Linked DNA regions of Homo sapiens: regions 1 and 2 are each linked to region 3. The links are contacts of gene promoters, found by promoter capture Hi-C in blood cells and fetal thymus (Javierre and others, 2016). All regions are on one chromosome and are shown on one strand. Each heading gives the region's core, a stretch centred on a gene start or on the middle of the fragment in contact. The rest is flanking DNA. Distances are from core to core; before and after follow the strand shown. Region 1 overlaps MDM2 (MDM2 proto-oncogene). Region 2 overlaps MDM2 (MDM2 proto-oncogene). Region 3 holds the start of IL26 (interleukin 26).

The links. Contacts are between HindIII fragments. The CHiCAGO score rates a contact against its expected background, and 5 or more counts as called.
Region 1: a contact is called between a fragment that was not itself captured here and the fragment with the promoter of IL26 in region 3, in 1 of 17 cell types (megakaryocytes). The highest score is 5.1, in megakaryocytes.
Region 2: a fragment that was not itself captured here is called in contact with the fragment with the promoter of IL26 in region 3 in 1 of 17 cell types (megakaryocytes); the score reaches 7.6 in megakaryocytes.

Annotation. Positions count from the first base shown.
Region 1 is chr12:68,825,965-68,829,385 of GRCh38, forward strand. MDM2 (MDM2 proto-oncogene) reads left to right here. Exons shown (of 11, transcript NM_002392.6): 8 at 2,807-2,967. Among named protein-coding and RNA genes, the nearest start is that of MDM2, 19 kb to the left of the region's middle. The HindIII fragment of the contact is 1,992 bases long and covers 394-2,385 here.
Region 2 is chr12:68,845,361-68,849,327 of GRCh38, forward strand. It overlaps MDM2 (MDM2 proto-oncogene), which reads left to right. Exons shown (of 11, transcript NM_002392.6): 11 at 1-184. It also overlaps a transcript of CPM not described here. Among named protein-coding and RNA genes, the nearest start is that of MDM2, 39 kb to the left of the region's middle. The HindIII fragment of the contact is 1,942 bases long and covers 1,409-3,350 here.
Region 3 is chr12:68,224,111-68,227,935 of GRCh38, forward strand. IL26 (interleukin 26) reads right to left here and starts at 1,700. Exons shown (of 5, transcript NM_018402.2): 1 at 1,476-1,700; 2 at 1,334-1,390; 3 at 1,039-1,173. The coding sequence starts at 1,646. The HindIII fragment of the contact is 7,284 bases long and covers 116-3,825 here.

The sequences.
Region 1 (3,421 bases), core at 140-2,639, 600 kb after region 3:
TTAAATGAAAAATAGAATACAACATATTTGAAAGATAGTCACTTTAAATTTGACTGTTAATATCTGTATTACATAAAAAGTCTTCCCAAATCAATAAGGAAAACATTAAAACTTCAAATAGCAAAAAGGGCAGACAGTTCACAAAAATTTCTCACAGTAAATACGAATGACTAATAAATATGGGGAGAGGGTGAATTTTGGTGATTTTTAGCTTTACAGATAGTAAAAAATGCCAAAAGGGTGTCCTTTTGATCTATCAAATTAGTAAAAATAAAATTTTTACTCATCCTTACTCATCAGTGCTAATAACTTGTGTATTAGCACTGATAAACTGTTGGTCTGTAAATTGGTAAAAGTGGGTAAAAATTGATTAAATTTTTCGGATTATAAAAAAGCTTAGATGGCCTGGTGCGGTGGCTCACACCTGTAATCCCAGCACTTTGGAAGGCCGAAGCGGGTGGATCTCTTGAGGTTAAGAGTTCGAGACCAACCTGGCCAACATGGTGAAACCCCATCTCTATTAAAAATACAAAAATTAGCCAGGTGTGGTGGCAGGCGCCTGTAATCCCAGCTACTTGGGAGGCTGAGGCAGGAGAATCGCTTGAACCTGGGATGTGGAGGTTGCAGTGAACCAAGGTCGCACCACTGCACTCCAGCCTGGGGTACAGAGTGAGACTCCCTCTTAAAAAAAAAAAAAAAAGAAAAGAAAAAAAAGTCTTAGAGTTCTTAACATTATCCTAGTAACTCCATTTCTAGTAATCTATCCTAAGGATGTAATAAAAAATTCAAAGATTTATATGTAGAGATACTAATTACAGCATTATTTATAATTGCAGCCCGGCCAAGATCACCTTTTTAAAAATAGGGAACACAAACATGATTAAGAACTCACGTGCAGAACTTGTGATCTCGATAAAACGTAAAAATCCCGGCCAGGTCCAGTGGCTCACGCCTGTAATCCCAGCACCTTGGGAGGCCGAGGAGGGAGGATCACGAGGTCAGGAGATTGAGACCATCCTGGCTAACACGGTGAAACCCCGTCTCTACTAAAAATACAAAAAAAATTAGCCGGGCACAGTGGTGGGCACCTGTAGTCCCAGCTATTCAGGAGGCTGAGGCAGGAGAATTGCTTGAACCCAGGAGGTGGAGGTTGCAGTGTGCCGAGATTGTGCCATTATACTCCAGCCTGGGGGACAAGAGTGAGACTTTGTCTCAAGAAAATGATAAAAAAAGTCCTTTCAGAAATCTGTGATACTATCTCATTTTAATTTTTGTCATTCTCATGGGTGAAAAATGATATCATTTCACTTTGCATTTCTTTGATCCCTAGGAGGTAAGAGTTTTTTTTTCTATTACTCAAGTACATGACTCAAGATTTTTCATATGTTTATTAGTCATTTGTATTTCTTCTGTGACTTGCTTTTTCCTGTTTCCTTAAAAGAAAATACAGTCTATCTTGATTTGGTAGGACTTTGTATAATATGTATACTATGGGTAATTTTTACTATATATGTTGCAGATATTATCTTCGAATTTGACCTTTGCCTTTTAACTTTTGTTTGGTATTTTATTTTGTCATGTAAACCTTGACATGGTCTAATCTTGATAGTCTTTTTATTGAGGACTTTGCAGTATTATGAAATACTTCTCCACCCCAGCATTATAAGAATATTTTGTTATAGGTACTTGAATGGTTTTGTTCTTTATATTTAGATCTTTAATCCACCTGGAATTCATTTTTATGTCTAGTATAAGGTAGTATTCTCATTTATGTCTAACGGATTTGTCTAACATTCTGACCCATTCAGAGATAATTTATTATTTAAAATGAAATGGAAACTTTTTACTGGTTTTGATTTCTGTTTAAAATATAGGGTACTGAAGAGCCGGGCTTAGTGGCTTAGGCCTGTAATCCCAGCACTTTGGGAGGCTGAGGCAGGAGGATCACTTAAGGCCAGGAGTTTGAGACCAGTGTGGCCAACATGGTGAAACCCTGTCTCTACCAAAAATACAAAAATTATCCAGGCATGGTGGTGTGCACCTTTAATCCCAGCTACTTGGAAGCTGAAGTCACAAGAATCACTTGAACCTGGGAGGCAGAGGTTGCAATGAGCTGAGAATGTACCACTGCACTCCAGCCTGGGTGGTCGAGTGTGACTCTGTCTCAAAAGAAAAAGTGTAGGGTACTGAAGAAATTGAAACATTAAGAATACCATATGAGTAAATTAAACACTTTGGCTCTTTTCGGAAAAAAACAGATGAGCTCTTATATTTTAAAGTTTGGTTTTGACAGAAAAAAATTCCTAGATTTTTTGGTTAATAAAAACTTTATTAGATAGATTAAATTGTGATGTATGGAGATAAAGTTCTGAAAGAAGAATAGAAAGCTTTTTAAAAATAGTATTCTCAGCCTAGGCAACATGGTGAAACCCTGTCTATGCAAAAAATACAAAATGGTGCATTCCTATGGTACCGTTCCTATGGTACCAGCTACTCGGGAGGCTGAGGTTGAGGTGGGAGGATCACTTGAGCCCATGAGGCAGAGGTTGCAGTGAGCCGAGATTGTGCCTCTGTACTCCAGCCTGGGTGACAGAGCAAGACCCTTTCTCAGACAATAAATAAATAAACAAATAAATAAATACACACAGATAGTGTTCTGCTGTAACAGTTGGACAGATTCAATAAAACAGTGTTAACTTTTGAACTAATTTTATTGAAACTAAGTTTCTGTACAAATAGGTACTCAAAACAGCTCAATTTTCTAAATCACAGTACAGCAATTTATTTTTTTTCCTTACATATCCAGAAGAAAATTCAGATGAATTATCTGGTGAACGACAAAGAAAACGCCACAAATCTGATAGTATTTCCCTTTCCTTTGATGAAAGCCTGGCTCTGTGTGTAATAAGGGAGATATGTTGTGAAAGAAGCAGTAGCAGTGAATCTACAGGGACGCCATCGAATCCGGTAATGTTCTCATTTTAAGTAAGGCAAGACTCTTACTGTTCAAAGTCTAGTCCTGGCAGTCCTAATAAGGATACGGATAGAATGTACATGTGTCTTACGAGATTGATAGAAAACACAGTGCTAAATTTTACTTTAAAATAAAACTACTATATTGATCTCCACCTTCAACCCAAGGTATTGTGAGAAATGTGGAAAATAGTGGAGTAACACCGGTATTGGTAAAATTAGTAGTAGTATTAGTAATTATCAATGTCACTGTATGTATTAGAGAATATTTGTGGACCACTGCACCAATAGTACAGTCAAATAAATTGGAGTATAGAGTTGTTTGAGAATTTGAGAGTTACACTTTTTAAAAAAGGAACAAAACCAAAAATTTGGTTCAGTTAAATATTTTAGCATTTTAAGGCAAATTTGACTATTTAGAGTAAAAATATATTTTATTACAGCCATC
Region 2 (3,967 bases), core at 1,130-3,629, 620 kb after region 3:
AAGGTGTTCAGAAGTAACAAATTATAAAATGAGCTAACAAACGAAAGGCAAAATAAAACCGTAAAGCAAGCAGATGGGAGGCGTGTTCAGTAACTTATTCATAATGCATCTGAAATGATTGCTGTACTCAAATATTTAACGTTAGAGTAATAGTATTTTGAATGAAAACCATAGTTGATTGTCTTTAGAGAGAGGAGTGGTACTGAAACATACTTGAATTCGTATTGCTTTCCTTTAAAGCTCTCCTTTAAAGACTTTAAAAAAAATTCGATAGGCATTTTCATGTTTCAGTCCTACAATCCCACATCTCTGCTGCCTTCAGAATGCTACAACTTAGATGTCCAGCCAACAGCTTAAAGCCAATTTATAAAAATAGCATCTTTCCTAATTCCAAAATTTCACCTTTTGTTTGTTTTGTTTTGAGATGCGGTCTTGCTCTGTCGCCCAGGCTGGAATGCAGTGCTGCAAACATGACTCACTACAGCCTCAACCTCCTGGGCTCAAGCAATCCTCCCACCTCAGCCTCCCAAGTAGCTGGGGACCACAGGTGCAAGCCACCAGGTCCAGCTAACCTTCCCCCCACCTCCCCCGACCCCGCTGCCACCCGCCCTGAGACAGAGTCTTGCTCTTTCACCCAGACTGGAGTGCAGTGGTGCAATCTCGGCTCATTGCAACCTCCACCTCCCAGGTTCAAGCAATTCTGCCTCAGCCTCCTGAGTAGCTGGAATTATAGGTGCTCGCCAACCACACCTGGCTAATTTTTTTTGTATTTTTAGTAGAGATGGGGTTTCAGCATGTTGTCCAGGCTGGTCTCGAACTCCTGACCTCATGATCCGCCCACCTCGGCCTCCCAAAGTACTGGGATTACAGGCGTGAGCCACCGTGCCCGGCCTAATTTTTGTATTTTTTGTAGAGACAGTTTCACCATGTTGCCCAGGCTGGTCTCAAACTCCTGGGGTCAAGTGATCTGCCCGTCTTGGCTTCCCAAAGTGCTGAGATTACAGGTGTAAGCCACCACGCCAAGCCCAAAATTTCACCTTTTAAATTTATTCCATTTATTTTGTAGGTGAATTTCATTTATTTCTCAGGGTTAAATTTTAGCGCTTTTGCCTGTGTCTATTTTTGGTTCACACCTCCCCAGCCCACTGTCCTGTATTAAGTAGGCCTTCCTTCAAGATCACAGTAATATCTCCCTAAATGGATTTCACTACGTTTGGTCCTATTTTTGGTTCAGTTATAGTTTACAGATACCATCATGTTGCTTCCCTGATTTAAATATTGGGGGAAAAACTTGCTTTTTGGATTTTATCTCTGATGTTCTACTGGATTATTTTAGACTTTTAGAACACTATGAAATGGGTGCTTGCTTTTCACTTTTCAAACCTTTTTTGCTTAAACAAAGTTCATAAGCTTATTGTAGTGGGAAGTTCAAAGTCACAGATCTGGTACTTACTCGCCTAGTGACCTTAGAGACAATAAATCTATAGAGCCTAGTATGGGGTCTGGCAGGTAGTAAGCACTTTTAATGAATGGAAGTTTAATATTCTGTTTGCATCCACTCGACCATAATCACCCCAAATCCAGCTTAGGTAGCCTTGAATTAACCCCTACTCCACCTTGAAGTTTTTTATTTGTTTTTTGCTGAGACAGGGTCTCATTCTGTCACCCAGGCTGGAGTATAGTGGCGCAAACATGACTCACTGCAGCCTCCTGAGTAGCTGGGAACACAGGCCTGTTGCCACCATGCCTGGCTAATATATATATTATATATAATATACATATATTACATATATATATATAATACATATGTGTTTATGTATGTATGTGTGTGTACATTATATATATATATATACTTTTTTTAGAGGCAGAGTCCTGCTATGTTGCCCAGGCTGGCCTTGAACTCCTGGGCTCAAGCAATCCTCGTGTCTTGACCTTGACCTCTCAAAATGCTGGGATTACAGGTGCGAGCCACTGCATCTGGTGAATTAAGCCTTTTTTATACACTCAACTCTGAGGTATTCTGTTCATACCAATATGTTCCTTTGTATCTTCTTGCCATAGCAGGTTGTAACATCCTTTTGTATCTCCTTTCTTTTTTTTTTTTTTTTTTTGAGACGGAGTCCCGCTGTTTAGCCCAGGCCGGATTGCAGTGGCGCAATCTCGGCTCACTGCAAGCTCCGCCTCCCAGGTTCACGCCATTCTCCTGCCTCAGCCTCCCGAGTAGCTGGGACTACAGGCGCCCGCCACCGCGCCTGGCTAATTTTTTGTATTTTTAGTAGAGACGGGGTTTCACCGTGTTAGCCAAGATGGTCTCGATCTCCTGACCTTGTGATCCGCCCGCCTCGGCCTCCCAAAGTGCTGGGATTACAGGCGTGAGCCACCGCGCCCAGCCGTATCTCCTTTCAAATGTCAAATAAATACATTGTGTATACAGTAGTAAAGGATGTTGATTGGCATTGAAAGCAACTATCAAGTTCTTGTTGATTTAGAAGACAAAAAGACAATTTTAAAATAACATCCTGGGCCAGGCTCTGTGACTCACGCCTGTAATCTCAACACTTTGGGAGGCCAAGGAAGGAGGATCACTTGAGGCCAGGAGTTTGAGATCAGCCTGGGCAACATAATGACACCCTGTATCCAAAAAATTGTGGTGGCATGCATGGGAGACTGAGGTGGGAGGATCACTTGAGCCCAGGAGTCCAATGTTACAATGAGCTATGATTGCGCCACTACACTCTGCTTAGGAGACAGATGGAGACTTGTCTCTTAAAAAAATAAAAAATAACAGTATGTTCATTAAACATTAATCTCACTGATTGTGATTTTTTGTTTGTTTTTTTGAGATGGCGTCTTGCTCTGTTGCCCAGGGTGGAGTGCAATGGCGTGATCTTGGCTCACTGCAGCCTCCACCTCCTGGGTTCAAGTGATTCTCCTGCTTTAGCCTCCCAAGTAGCTGTGTTATTTCAGCTAATTTTTTCATTTTTAGTGGAGATGGGGTTTTGCCATGTTGGCCAGGCTGGTCTCGAATTCCTGACCTCATGTGGTCCACCTGCCTCGGCCTCCCAAAGTGCTGGGATTACAGGCATTGAGCCACTGTGCCTGGCCTGATTATGATTTTTTAAAGTCCCCCCCCAAATTATTGTTTGTGCAATAAATGGCAAAAAAGAAGCATTCTAAGAAAAAAGTAGTCTTAAAAGTTGATATGGTGTCAGAATTGTAAGAGAGAGGGTCTTGGCTGAAAAGCCTTTTTAGAAAAAATTGCTCCCTACAAAAAAGGCCTTTTCTACCTTTTCTCACATTTGTTTCTTTTTATAGGAGGCATCTGAGAAGACCAAATCTCTTCAAAGTTAAGCTTTTTGTTTTTTTGGGGGGGACGAAGTCTCGTTCTGTCACCCAGGCTGGAGTGTAGTGGCATGATCTCGGCTCACTGCAACCTCTGCCTCCTGGGTTCAAGCAATTCTCCTGCCTCAGCCTCCCGAGTAGCTGGAAATTCAGGCGCCTGCCACCATGCCCAGCTAATTTTTGTATTTTTAATAGAGGCAGGGTTTCACTATATTGGCCAGGCTGGTCTCGAACTCCTGACCTCATGATCCGCCTGCCTCTGCCTCCCAAAGTGTTGGGATTACAGGCATGAGCCACCGCACCCAGCCCAAAGTTAAGCATTTTTTAACCACAAGGTGGGAGGTGGAAGTATCTCGTTGGAAGACTAAAGGTGTCCACTAACGGTAGACCCTTTTTTTTTTTTTTTTGAGATGGAGTTTCACTGTCGCCCAGACTAGACTGAAGTGGCGCGATCTCGGCTCACTGCAACCTCTGCCCCCCAGGTTCAAGTGATTCTCCTGCCTCAGCCTCTAGAGTAGCTAGGATTACAGGGGTCCACCACCACACCTGGCTAGTTTTTGTATTTTCAGTAGAGACGGGGTTTCACCATGTTGGCCAGGCTGGTCTCGAACTCCTGACCTCAGGT
Region 3 (3,825 bases), core at 450-2,949:
ACTGGCTTCCCAAGGATTGCAATAAGGCTCCCAACCCAACCTTTGTACCATCTGCAAGCTACAACTGCAGGAGGCTGGAGAAAGCATACTTGGACCCCAACCAAGGGCACAGAAAAGCTTCAATATTCCCCACAGAGGCAACTCGACTAACATTGCACAGATTCTGGCTCAGTGTTTTTGTTTTGTTTTGTTTTGTTTTGTTTTGTTTTGTTTTGTTTTGTTTTCTGCACTGGTCTTTATTGCTGTGGAATTTTTCATAGAAATGTGATCACTTTTACCTTCTTAATTAATTCTCCACTGCTTGCTATGACAGTGACCATACTGAGGCATCAAATAATTTAGGTACCAAAGAAGGCATGTCTATCCCTTTTTAAGTTTTTTACTGAGATTATGCCTTAAAAGGGGCACAAATATTTTTTTAAAAACATAAGTAAATAAGAAAAAGGGCATCAGTTAGTTATTATTGTTATGGGAAAGAAGGAAGGAAGGAAAGAGAGAGAGAAAGAAAGAAAAGGAAGTAAAGAAAGAAGGAAGGAAGGAAAAGAAAGAAAGAGAGAGGGAGGGAAGGAGGGTGGAGGAAGAGAAAGGGGAGAGGGAGGGAGGGAGAGGGAAGGAAGGGAGGGAGGGAGGGAAGAAGGGAGAGAGGGAGAGAGGGAGGAAGGGAGAGAAAGAGAGACTTAGAATAGTGTTTGGCACAAAGTTGGTACTCAAGAAATATTAAATGGATGAATGGATTACTTGGGAATCACATAATGAGAGAATGATTTTAAAGTATTTATTTGAAAACCATGTCATGTTACTTTAGCTCTCTTCAGTGTGTTTTATGAGCCATTCTTTAAGAAATAATAAATAGCAGCATTCTGAGTAATGTACAGTTATTTAATGCTATTTCCCTGGTGATGACCTCTCCATTTGGACTACAAGCCAACAATTACAAAGCTCGTTTTACTCACCCTTTGGTGTGAGACAGATTCTTACATGCTGACTTCTAAACAGGTTTCTAGGATCAAATGCACAGTATTTGTTGTGTATACTTACACAGTGGCTCAATTTCTGCCTAAGGCTATGAAAGTCCTCCACAAAGCGTATTTTCTTGCAGCCTTGCAATTGCAGTTGACCAAAAACGTCTTCCATGAAGAAGGACAGAAGCTGTTCTTGAAATTGACAGTTTTTCTAAAAATAAGATACAAGAAATTGCATATGGTAAATTATGAATCGTTTTTTAATGTCCCCCGATCATTACTTAATTACTCTCTGAAAAAAATTTAAATGCAGGGGGAAATAAACATCAAATAAGTGGAAATGTAAAAAAGAAGAAGACTTTCTGACTTACCATAAACTGCTTTTTTGTTTTCTTTTTTAATAATCGTATATTTTTTATGCGGTCTTCCTACAATAATACAAAGAGAAATAAGTTGTATCCAAGATTGTAAATGTCCTTGAGGTCATGATTTTAAGCAGAGCCTAATACTTACTGGAATCGTTGCTTTGAGCCATGCTGCTTTGATATAGAGAGCGTCAACAGCTTGGGACAATGTTCCCCTTGGGTAACAACTTTTGGTGAAGGAAGATTGCTTGTGCTTGGCAATGGCAAGAGACAGAGTGACTAACAGCAACCCACACCTCAAAATGAAATTCACCAGCATTTCCCTTCACCCCACTCAGCGTGTGTCACTCACAGCAGCCCAAGAGATACTAATGCCGGTTAGATGAGAGGATAACCTACTTAATGTAGCCCTCAAAGCCACCAGTCCAATGAGGTGCTGTGAAAGATAATTTACAGTTTATATAGAGGAAGATCACTTTGGTTGTTCTATTTTTTTAAGAGCTTGCTTCATAGTCAAAAAACGCTGATCACACCATCAACTGACATTATTTAAAAGCTCAGCCTTACTGGTAAGATTGCGTTCTCATTTCCAAAAGAATTCAGAATTTCAGTTGCCTATCACAGCAGCTTGCATTATTTTAAAAGGCATGCCAATAAAAACAGGATGATTTCCAGGGGGCTGTGTCATAATTTTTTAAACCCCATGTGAAAAATCTCCTTTTCTAACCAGAATCCCAGAAAAAATTTAACAAGGGGGTAGAAATGGGCAGCCCCAGGAAATCTGCTCACGATTCAAATGGGTCTTGTGTTTATTGCTTGCCACATCCTTCACCCAGCTTCCCCCAGAGGCCATTATTCTGCAGATAGCAGCGAGAACATTTCCAGTGCAGAAACAGTAACTCCCCTTAACATATTCAAGATATGTTTGGAACTGGACCTGGGACTAAGGTCCACAATGTAATAAGTTCTCTGTCATCTCTGTCCAAATTTACCACTCAGACTTTCCTTATAACTCCCAACTTCCAGGAGAGTGCAAATTCCTTGAAGAAAGAGACCGTATATTTTCACCTTTGAATACAGCATCTACCATGGCACCTCATCTAAAGAAGTGCATCCATTATTAATTGAGTAAATACTTTTGTCACATCATGACGTGCTACCATAACTGCTTTATTTTTTAAATTTCTTCCATTCACACATTTTTATTAAAGACTTGCCTACACAAAAACCAGTGCTAGGTATGAGGGAGCCACCAAGGAGGATTCTCCATAAACTCCCATCCTCATTTCTGTCCCAGTTCTTCCTAGACAGTAAATATGGCTCATTCTGGGTAGCAGCCCCAATATAAGAAGAGGGCAGCCCAGAGTCATATTCTGAGAAGCAGAGATAGGTCACTAAAGCCTAGAATGAATAGAGTTAATGTGTATCAGGGATAAGTCAACACTAGAAATCTGGTTGTGAGTTAAGAGAGTCATCAAAACTAGTCAGTCAATAACAAGCATCAGAACCCAAGACTAAATTCCAAATGAAAGCAAGCAGGGCTGTCAAAAAAACAAAAAAAAAACAAAAAAAAAACAAAAAAAAAACAACCAAGAAGAAAAAGGGAAAATAAGAAAAATGCTTGGACTGATGTCTGCTGTTTCAAAACATGAGTGGATCTCTTGGAAGAATCCAAGCCTTATTTCCCCAGGAGCAAGATCACTGGTAACGACACACCCTATCAATTGAGATGAGAACTATTCACAAAAAAACTATAGCAGAAGTCAGCTGACTGGGAGTGCTGAGTGAAGTTCACTGAAATTTTATGAAATTCAGAAAAAGAAAGAAGTCGTTTCAGTTGGGAGTGGCTGAAAGGATGTTTGAACTAGGACATGAAATACACAAAGGGATTTATTTATTTATTTATTTATTTATTTGAGCAGAGGAATGCCTAGTATTATAAGTTCCTTTGGAAAGAAACAGTGTGAACTTGGAGGGATCAAAAGCTCAAATGCCCTTAGAGGGCGAGGATTAATACAAACACACTGGGTGGGTAGATACCAGATAATTGCGGCTAATATGCTTATATGGTCACCAGTCTTAAAGTCTGTCTAATCACATAGCCTGTTAACACACTGTGCTATAAACACAGAGTGCAATAAAAGGATGACACAAAACACCTCCCAGAGCCATATACTGCCGTGAGCAGCCAATTTCAGATCCCTGGTGTGTACCAACAAAACTTGTGGCTAATATTGATAACTCAAGTGGCTAATATTGATAAATTAAGTTGATGTGGGTTCTGGCTATTTTTTAACTTCTGGTAGTTACATTTCCATAAATACCTTACATCCCTCAAATCATCATCACACAAGGAAAATCCATATATAGTCCTAGAATGCCTCTGCTTTGGTTTGCAGCCAACTCAAGAAAACTGTGGCCATTTCTGTATGAATGACCATATCACCCACTGGATCACAGTCATCCTCCATCTTAGTCAGCAAACCTGCCTCATTAGG